Regions from separate parts of the Homo sapiens genome. Here region 1 is linked to region 2. The links are contacts of gene promoters, found by promoter capture Hi-C in human tissues and cell types (Jung and others, 2019). All regions are on one chromosome and are shown on one strand. Each heading gives the region's core, a stretch centred on a gene start or on the middle of the fragment in contact. The rest is flanking DNA. Distances are from core to core; before and after follow the strand shown. Region 1 overlaps GHR (growth hormone receptor). Region 2 holds the start of GHR (growth hormone receptor).

Region 1 (5,392 bases), core at 1,974-4,473, 43 kb before region 2:
TGGACATGACTGGCAGAGACAAACTGTAGGAGCACAGCAAGGAGAAAGCAGGTCCTCTCCCACCACAAGGACATCTCCAGGATAGGCTGAGGCAGACAGTAGACTGTTCTGTCAAAGTGGAATATTCCAGAAGTGAAAATGTGAAGCCTAGATCTCCTTATCTATAATTGTGAATAATTATACTGTCTCTTGTATCCCAATCTGCATGATCCACCCCACCACTACACTTCCTCCTTTATCAACTATTTGTATACATAAAAATATAAGAAATAATTTACTTTTCTCACTTCCCATTAGGCTTTCCTAAGTTCCCTGGACCCACCTATTCCAGTGAACAGTGAGAGAATGCAGTTTGTTAGCAGTAAATAATAAAACAGACAATAAGGGTCTTGTCTCAAGTTTCCAAACTGTCTCTCTTTCCCAGAACAAGAGAAGCTTCTTTCTACAATAGTATTATCTAGAACTATCTTTTAATTTGTCATAAAGTCATAATTAAACATAACTCCATTTTAGAGACTTTAAAAATTCATTTTGAAATTTACCTTGCCTGACATTTACAGGCGGATTTCAAAAAAATTGTTCTTCGATCTTCTGGGAAGAGCTGAAGCACGCGCTCTTGGCTCGGCGCAGCCCGCTGCAATCCGTGGAGGAATGTGCCGCCGAGCAACCATCATGCCTGGGCAGTTACAGGAAGGCTTCAGCTGCCTGGTCACCAACCGATTCGACCAGTTATTTGACAACTAATCGGACCCCTTCGAGGTGCTGAAGGCAGGAGAGAACAAGAAAAAAGAAGCTGGCGGGGGCGGCGTCTCTGGGGCCAAGAGCGGCAGCTCAGGCTGCGACCCAGACCAACTCCAAGGCGGCAGGCAAATAGCTAGCTGCGCAAGGAGTCCCAGAAAGACAGCAAGAACCCGCTGCCCTCCAGCGTTGGCGTGGTTGACAGGAAAGAGGAGACGCAGCCGTCCATGGTGCTTAAGAAAGAAGGAATAAGGGTCATTGTTCTCGTGCCAGTAGGAGCTGAGGTCCTGGTCCCCCAGCCTCCTGCTGCAGAGCCAGTGAACTCTGGTCGGGCCTCTCAGCTGCGCACGTAGGCAATACTCATCTTGGCCCTGGGAGGAAACTCAAGAAGAAGCTTTTGAAACATAAAGCTTAGATGGGGTTTGACCTGTGCTGGGCAGCTCCCAGCTATAGGCGTTCCCCTGCTGAGCAGAGAAGATGACTGCAGAATTGAGAGAAGCCATGGCCCTAGGCCCATGCCGCCCAGTGAAGGTGAAAAAGGAGGAGGAGGAAGAAGAAAACTTCCCAGATCAGGCATCCAGCCAACAAGTGCACTCTGAGAACATCAAAGTCTGGGCCCCAGGGGAGTTTCGTCAGACAGGCCTTGATGGATCAGAAGAGGAAGAAAAGGTGCTGAAACCAAGAACCTTCAGTTACTGGTTCCAAAAACTGAGATACGTGAGGAAGCTGAAAACCCCCGCATCATATTAGGAAGAATCCAGAAAGCTGATCCTTAAGGACCTGAGTTAAGAGAGGCTTGTGAAAAAGAAAACATGTTAAAGAGGCAGAGAATAAGGAGGGAAAGGAAAGATTTCAGATAAGTCATAGTGAATGACTGTCACTTACCTGAAAGCTTCAAAGAAGAGGAAGACCAGAAATGTAAGAAATCTGTGGGAAAATACAGCCTTAATTCTGACACTGTTAACAATCCGAAAACCCAGCTTGGGCGAAAGTCTTTTACATTGTAGCATGTGTGGGAAAGGATTTAGTCAGAGTGCAAACCTCGTTGTGCATCAGAGAATCCACACCGGGGAGAAACCTTTTGAATGTCATGAGTGTGGGAAGGCCTTCATTCAGAGTGCAAAGCTCGATGTGCATCAGAGAATCCACACTGGACAGAAACCTTATGTTTGCTCAAAATGTGGGAAAGCCTTCAATCAGAGTTCAAATCTGACTGTATATCAAAAAAACCTCTCCTTAGAAAAAACCTTTAGGCGTAGTAAATGTGAGAAAGCCTTTAGTTATAGCTCACAACTTGCTCGGCACCAGAAACTCCACATTACAGAAAAATGCTGTAAATGTAATGAGTGTCGGAAAACATTTACTGGGAGCTCAAACCATATTGTCCACCAGAGGATCCACACTGGGGAGAAGCCCTCTGCCTGTAACGATTCTGGCAAAGCCTTTACGCAGATTGCAAATCTTATTGTACATCAGCGAAGCCATACTGGTGAGAAGCCATATGAGTGTGAGTTTGGGAAAACCTTTAGTTGTTTTTCACACCTTATTATGTACCAGATAATTCACACTGCAGAGAAACCTTATGACTGCAGTGAATGTGGGCAAGCCTTCAGTCAGCTCTCTTGCCTTTTTGTCCACCAGAGAATTCACAGTGGAGATCTTCCTTTTGTGTGTAATGAATGTGGGAAGGCCTTCACATGTAGCTCATACCTACTTATTCATCAGAGAATCCATAATGGAGAAAAACCTTACATGTGTAATGAGTGTGGGAAGGCCTTCAGACAGAGGTTGAGCCTCACGGTGCACCAGAGAACCCACACTGGGGAGAAGCCCTATGAATATAAGAAGTGTGGTGCAGCTTTCATTTCCAACTCACACCTCATGCGACACCACAGAACCCATCTTGTTGAACAACAAGTAAGGAAGAGGAAGACTTCCAGCATTGGTCATAACCTTCTGCCTCCCAAATGAGACACCTCTTTGCTGTTTTCTTCTTCCTTTATAAAGATGAGGCCTATGTCCTTAAAAGTTACAGTTTTCAGGAATGCAGCACAAAACACAAGATAAACATTTCAGCAGTTAATTTAAAGAAAACAGAAAGTAAGCACCTGAAGGCAACGACTTTGTTTTAACTGTACCTTAAGTGGTCATGTTTTCTGAAATGGAATGTAGCTTTCTTAGGAATGGGTCATACAAAGTAATGATTGTATTTGGGGAAAGGTCTTTTTTGCTTAATTTTGTTTTTAAAAACTCTGATGATTGCTTGAGCAATAGGCAGGTTATCTGCCTGGTTGAATTCTGGTTGAACCGTGTATTCTAGTATTTCTGGTTAAGTGGTGACTAGGTAAGGAAACCACTTGGGGTAGCAATTCAACAATTCACTTATGAATGTTTATAAGCTTTCCATTTTCTAAGTAATTTTTTAAAAGCTAGTCAAAAGAAAAAACCTTAACTGTCTACTGTACCAAAAATGGACAGAAACAGGAAATGGCCTTTTTCCTTACTGTCTATACCCCCTGAACCTTGATATTGTAGATATTGTAAAGCTCTGGAGACCTCTGTTGAGTCTGTTCTGACCATTCCCTAGTGTGCATGGCCAAGCCCTCAAGGATTGATGGACACCACACGCCAGCTATAGTCATTTGTTAAGATTGACAACTCCTCCTCCACACAACTCAAGCTCCCAATTCCCATTGCATTCCATTTGGGTAAGATGCAACCAACAGCCCCCTTCCTGGATAGAGGAATCAAAGAATAAAGCTTGCCTAGAGGAAAAATAAAAAACACAAAAAGAAGAAGGAATAAGACAAGTTGGAAGAAGACCTGCTCAACAACTTCACGGTGAAGGGAAAATAACTGATAGAAGACCAGAAAGGAGACCACCTTGTGAACGAAGACTTGAAAAGCCACTTGATGAAAGGGGTGAAGGAGGCGAATTTTCAGTTGATAGACTGATTATTGACCGACCTATTCAAGGTCATGGTGGTCTTGGAAGAGGTCGAGAGGGCAGTGGACGTGAAATGGGCCAAGGAGATGGATTTGATTCTCGTGGCAAACGTGAATTTGATAGGTATAGTGGAAGTGATAGATCTTTTTTTTCACATTACAGTGGCCTGAAGCACGAGGACCTGTAACGTGGAGGTAGCAGATCTCACAACTGGGGAATTGTCAAAGATGAATTAACAGAGTCCCCCAAATACATTCAGAAACAAATATCTTATAATTGCAGTGACTTGGATCAATCAAATGTGACTGAGGAAACACCTGAAGGTGAAGAACATCATCCAGTGGCAGACACTGAAAATAAGGAGAATGAAGTTGAAGAGGTAAAAGAGGAGGGTCCAAAAGAGATGACTTTGGATGAGTGGAAGGCTATTCAAAATAAGGACTGGGCAAAAGTAGAAACCTCTTCAATCCCTTTATACCCTTAACCTAACTTTCTCTTACTGGTGGGTAATAACTGAAAATAAAGATTTATTTTCATGCAAAAAAAAAATCTGTTCTTCAAGATCATCACATTCAGTATAAGAAAATCAAATTCTTTCTGTCCAAATGTACTGTTCTGGCTTTGTCAACTTGACAGCAGCCTCTGCGCCCAGCTATTCTACTTGTCAACTCTTGACTCAGATACTTGTTCCAAACCATGGGACCCCTCTGCTTTTCATTAAAGATTATTATAACTAACTTAGACAAAAGGAACCGGACTTTGTCACACAGCACCAGAAATCCCAGCACTTTACAGAATAATCATTCTTTATCTTTAAGATGTTCACAGAGTTGCTCAATTGACAATAGGAAACAAACTTTTTCTCAAAAGAGAATCTCTTCCTTTTTTATTTCTTCATGATTTGCCCCAAAATAAATATATTCCAGTGCACCATTTAAACAGTTTAATTCATCCATTTGTGTTACTATGCCCTAGTTACTTCTAACCTGGAAAGAGGGTCACATTCCCTTCCTTTCTTTGTAGTGGAGAAGTCAGAAGATACTCATAATGATAGACATTAGTAAGTGCATCCTGTGTGTGTGCACACACAGCCATTCATAATTTAGATTATTAGTTCTGCCAGGGACTCTAGGGATGTCCTAGGGTTAAAGATGGCCTAGTTAAACTCTCTTCAATCTCTTTATACCCTTAACAAAACTAAGATAACATGGCAGAGACTTCCTTGGTTCTTTTCCTTCTTCCAGTCACTCAGCACACACCTGCAGAATGGATTCATGACCCTCCTACTTTTCCTCTGCTCCACACTTGCCTGTTTCTTCTCTCTTTCCTCTTGACTTGGTCCACTCTCTTTCTGAGCTTCCTTCTTTCCCATAATCTACCATCTTCCAGAGAGCTCATTCACACCGTGCATCCATGCATTGCATGTATGTGTTTCTGATGGCATGACCCCACTGCCAATTCTCCAAAATTTCAAAAGTAAAATAAACAAACTTACAACTTTCTGCTTCAGATAAAGCAAAAGGACACTTTCATTTAGAACACAAAGAGAGAAAACTAATTTTTGAGTCAGAAAGTAAGCTCCCATTCACCATGGGAGCTTCGCATTGAGAGCAGTTCATGTACATCGTAAATGTTCAATAAACACATCCACTTGCAGATAGCTGAGGAGCTCTGAGTCAGCAGCAGGTAGTAAGTAGATAATGAAAG
Region 2 (4,999 bases), core at 1-2,500:
AGTTCTGTCAAAACTTTAAGCCTGGTTGATTTTACAACCACTAGTGTGTCAAAAGCTGGGGGAGGTCGGCTCGCCACAATTTCCACTTACCCCAGTTCATGCGGACTGGTGGCTGTCACTCTACTGACCCCAGTTCCATCGGTGCCAACGTGCGGCTGCGGCCCGCACAAACGCGCAAAAGACCGCGCGCTCTGCGCGCTGTGTCCACGCGCACAGCTCGACCTCCCCAGTCTCTCCAGTCGCGCTGCCGGGGATTCTTCCCCGCGCAACAGCAGCAGCCTCGGCAGTTCCTGCCGCAGCCAGGCAGATGATGGCAAACAGAAACACACTAGCAAAACTTTTATGACTTTAACAAAACTGTCTCCGGAGTAAACCCCTCCACGTACACTACTCGCGGGCCAGAGCAGACGCCAGAGTGTGATGGTTCGTCTGTCGCCCGCAACTCCCTGCCGCCCTCACCAACTTCCAGACACACACACACACACACACACACACACACACACACACACACACACACTAGATTGGGTTACAACAACCCACCAGCAGAAAACAACTTCTTCGCAAGGAGGAGGGGAGCACAGCCAAGTCATCCGGAATAAAAAATTATCCGTGTAAATATATAAGACAGATCCTCCCGTTTTCATAAACAACTAGAGTCCCAGGGTTCACCCTCAGGCCCCCTGGCACAACAGGAGGAAAATAAAGCCAGACTCCCGGAGCCCCACTCCAGTACCTCCGAGCTTCGCCTCTGATCAGAGAGCGCGGGTTCGCGTCTGCGCTGGGGCCAATGGTGCCGGGGCCTCCGGCCCGCGTGGCCCCAGCCCGGGGTCCCCGCCGCCGCCCGGGCTCAGCAGCAGCCGCCGCCGCCACCGCCACTGTAGCAGCTGCTGCTGCCGCTGCCGCCGCCGCCGCCGCTCCCTAGCCCTCCTCCTCTTCCCATGGCTGCGCCCTGCTTGGCAGCTCGCGGGCTGTCAGGCTTGGGGAGGAGAGAGGGGGCGGGGTGAAACGGGAAGGGAGGATGGGAGGGCAGGGGTGGGAAAAGGCGGCCACCGTTCACCAGGGGTCACGCCGCGCCTGGCCCGCAGTCCCCCAGATCCAGGTTGCAGAAGCGAAGGCGAAGCGGACGTTCAAGGAGGCCAGTTCGAGAACTGCTGCGGAGAGGCCGAGTGCCGCCCGGGCCAAGCATTCCGAGTTGCTGGGATGAAGTCTTCCCGGCGAGGAGCTGGAGTTGGTGCGTGTCACTCTCAACTGAGCTGCGCGGCTCCTCCTAGAGGAAAATATTGGTAGTTGCAATACACTTCCTTCCTCTCCGCCTGCCCGTTCCAAATGAAAGCAGGACCTACAAGAGCGTTAAGTGCAGTCCACAGACTCAAAGAAACACTTACAAAAAGGTTAGCTATCTCCAGGAATGAGAGGAAGATCAGCGAGATACCTTGGAAAGCGTGTTTAGCCATCCAAATATTGCCTTTCCATCAACAATCAAGTTCCAAACTCCTGCTCACTGGGGCACAGTGAAAAGATAGTTAAAACTACGAAGGACTTTATTGTGGAGGTTAGAAGACGGAGACAGAGAGAATGAGTAATTTACCAAGGACACTCAGCATGTTAGCAGAGAGGTATCTGCTAGAGGACAGGGATGCAGGGAGAGCAGACACAGGCCCCAGCCTGAAGTTCCTGAGCCAGGAAAAGGGTTTTAACTCTGCCTCACGCTGGACATAGCTCATCTGTCAAATGCGAGCCCTGCCTACTTCATTCACAAGAAGTTGTAAAAGTGTTGCAGAAAGTTAAAGTTGTGCATAAGCATGTCATTTTTGTACAGCATCAAACCCCAAGTCACTATATGCTTTTCTGAGTAGAGAGTACAAAAATCTAGCTCCAGGTTGTCTCAGATCTGAAGGAGTAGCTAGTCATGCAATCTTTCCACTATTTACTGACGGTCAATTGTAATGTCACTTACTTATAAGCTTCTAACAGCTTTGGCTTACTAAAGACTTTTTTTTTTTAACAGAGCTCCCAGACACAAACCCAAGTTTATACCCAGAAAGAAATGTTTAAACAACTTAAAGGAACCAAGTTTCTTTTCTTTAGAATAAAATATCTATAGGGCTTTGAAGTAGTACACGGGAGCCAAGACTTGAGAAGGAACAGAGGACCAAAGACTCTGGGATAGCAGATATCACATAAGATACCCCTATTTTCAAAGGAATCAGATAAGTGAAAAACTGTTCCTTAGAATGCTTTCAGAAGCTCAGCTGTGGCTCAAATACCCCAGCTGTTCCAGACAGACACCTAGAATGAACGAAAAAGGAAAGATTCTGGAAGGGGCGTGTTTTATCATGGGGTGGGATGGTTATTGATCCTGAACTGCTCTTGTTCTATGGCATCTAAAAATAAGGAGGCATTTAGTTCCCCTAAGACTCTTCCCCAAACCATTGATTTCTGGGGCTTCATACTTTGCTGGAGCAATAGTGGTGCTTGGCTGTGTCTGGAGCTTTTAAAAGGGGAGGTACCCATATAGAGAAACTTGGGAAAGTAAAAGATTAGGGCACAGTCAAGAAAAACTCCTGCTGGGTGGTCCATACCTGCCAAGCTGGCTGACAGGGTAGTCCTGGCAGGAGTAGAGACCAGACAGGCCTCAAATGCTGACTCCACGCCTGTCTGAAATGACCTTCCAAGTTGGACCTTCTTCAGAGCCTGGCACTACCAACCTCTCTGTTTATATCCTCTCTGTGCCTTCTCATCCTTTGCCCTTCTTCCCTGAGCTAGAGAATCTTGATCTAGTTTAGGAGGTGCCAGACGGAGTCATAAAAGATATTCTAAATTCTATTGTTTATGCTCTGAGATGAGCTCAGGGCCATACTTAAAAAAATAAGAATTGACTTCTTTTTTTTTTTAAATCTGGGTTCAGCAATATCCTCCATTCTGTGTGCCATGAAACTAGACTACTCTGGCTGCTGCTCTGTCTTTGATTTTTAAAAAGTCATCATGCACAGAAAACATAGGAAAAGACACCTCAGTTAATACTATAGAACTAGATATAAACCTGCAACTGACATGAAGGGCAGTCTTTATTTTTAAGCCTCGTAAGTAAAGGTCCTTCAATCTCATATATGACCAGGTATTGGTCCATAGTAGTATGTGCCTCTTTATATATTCCAAATTGTGAGGGAAAATGTAGCAGGTATTGAGTTGATTAATTTGTTATAAGTTAAGGCATGCCAGAGCACATTTACCTTCTGAAGAATGAAACTGCATTTGCTCATGGTTTCCACTCTGCTTGGAAGATCCTACTTTGTCCACCCAGAGAAATCCTTCTTAATCTTAAAGTTCCAATCAATTGTTTACTTTCTCTCTGAAGGTCTTCCTGACTATTCCCCAGGGTGGAATTAATTAATTCTCCCTGTATCAGCACCTTTATAGGCCTTTATATCTTCTTTTATTAAATATTGCAGTTTTGTTGACATGTCTGCTTTTCTCATTAATTAAGAGATTTCTGAGGGAGAAACTATATATTCTTAATATCTGTACCTGCAATGTCTAGGTTAGTGCCCAGTATTTACAGAGTTTATAAAGCGTCCAATAAATAATCAAATTGAATGAAAAGTTGTATCTCTTGGATTTATATCTCTAACCCAGATCTCTCCACAGAGCTCCAGGCTAACAACTGGGTATCTCCATTTGGATGTCTAACAGACCTCTGAAACTTGACATGTCCACATCTGAACTCTGGTTCTTTCTCCTTAAACATACTCCAATCACAGTGGGTGACATTTCCATCTCAGTAGATGGCAACTACTTCCTGCCAGTTACCCAGGCCACAAACCTTTGAAATCATCCTTACTTCTTCTCTGCCAATCACATTCCACATTCAAAACTCTGTCTATTTTCTTGGAGAGGTCCAGAGACACCTGGTCTGAACCACCAGAATTTCTCAGATTACTGCAGTAGTCTCTCAACTCAACTGGTCTGCTTGCTTTGACAAACCCCACCCCTAATCCCCAACCAACACCAACAACAACCCAAAGTATAAATTCAGTTGCCATAGTCATTCCTTTTAAAATTAATATCATGTCATTCCTCAGCTCAAAACCCTCCAATGGTTCCCCATTCAAATCAGAATAAAATTCAAAATGGCCCATGAGACCCTACGTGAGCTATGTACCTTTGCCCCACACCTCATCTCCCATGAATTTCCCCATCACTGGGTCATCCATTCTGCTCCCAGCACACCGGCCTCCCTGCTGTTTCTTAAGCAGGCCAGGCAGACTCCTAACTTGAAGGCTTTTTGCTGGCTTTTCTCTCTGATTTAAACACACTTCCACAAATATTCATTTGCTTCCTCCTACAGTTCCTTGAAGTCTTTACTCAGATATTGGCTAACTTATCTTGTCCAACCTATTTTACCTTATTATGGCCTTACCTTATTATGGCCCACCCTTCCCCAGTCTTTTATACATCCCCAGTAGGGCTTAGCAAAAAATATAAACTGCCTTGAAGACAATAGAAACAATTAGAAAATAATTCTGATTATATATATTCAAGTGCAGATATCTAGGTCAGATCGCCATCTCCCCAAACCATAAAACACCACAGTATAAACTTCCTAAATCTACAGTTATCTGAGGTTAGAGCATGGCTTTAGTCACTCTGTTGTACTATAAAATGCCAAAGCTTCTTCTCAAAACAAAACAAAAGAGGCCAAAACACTTAAAGTAGCATTTTATAGCTGTTTTGTTTTATAGCATTTGTAGTTGAAGAACATAGGATTGTTAGTCAGGAGCCTTGGGATCCTGTGTGGGTCCTCTGTGATTTTGGGTAAATTAGTTACTAATCTCACAATGACTCCATTTCTTGGCCTATAGAAGGAAGGGGTTGCTCTCTGAGATCATTCAGCTGTAAAATAAAGTATTAGATTGATATTTGTAAATCAAATTATGATATCAAACATTTGTGATAAATTCTAAATTTATTTGAATAATATTTGACCAAATGTCCGGGT

Evidence for each region. Contacts are between HindIII fragments. The study calls those that stand out against the background at their distance.
Region 1: a fragment that was not itself captured here is called in contact with the fragment with the promoter of GHR in region 2 in 1 of the 25 tissues and cell types used here (aorta).

What each region holds. Positions count from the first base shown.
Region 1 is chr5:42,464,147-42,469,538 of GRCh38, reverse strand. All of the region lies in intron 1 of GHR (growth hormone receptor), which reads right to left. It also overlaps the pseudogene SERBP1P6 and the pseudogene LOC100419545. Among named protein-coding and RNA genes, the nearest start is that of GHR, 43 kb to the right of the region's middle. The HindIII fragment of the contact is 3,667 bases long and covers 1,390-5,056 here.
Region 2 is chr5:42,419,690-42,424,688 of GRCh38, reverse strand. It overlaps GHR (growth hormone receptor), which reads right to left and starts at 1,250. Exons shown (of 10, transcript NM_000163.5): 1 at 734-1,250. RefSeq lists promoters at 1-45, 210-557, 210-978, 1,176-1,276, 886-1,458 and 1 more, cis regulatory regions at 1,081-1,121, 1,459-1,967 and an enhancer at 1,105-1,254. The HindIII fragment of the contact is 10,174 bases long and covers 1-3,318 here.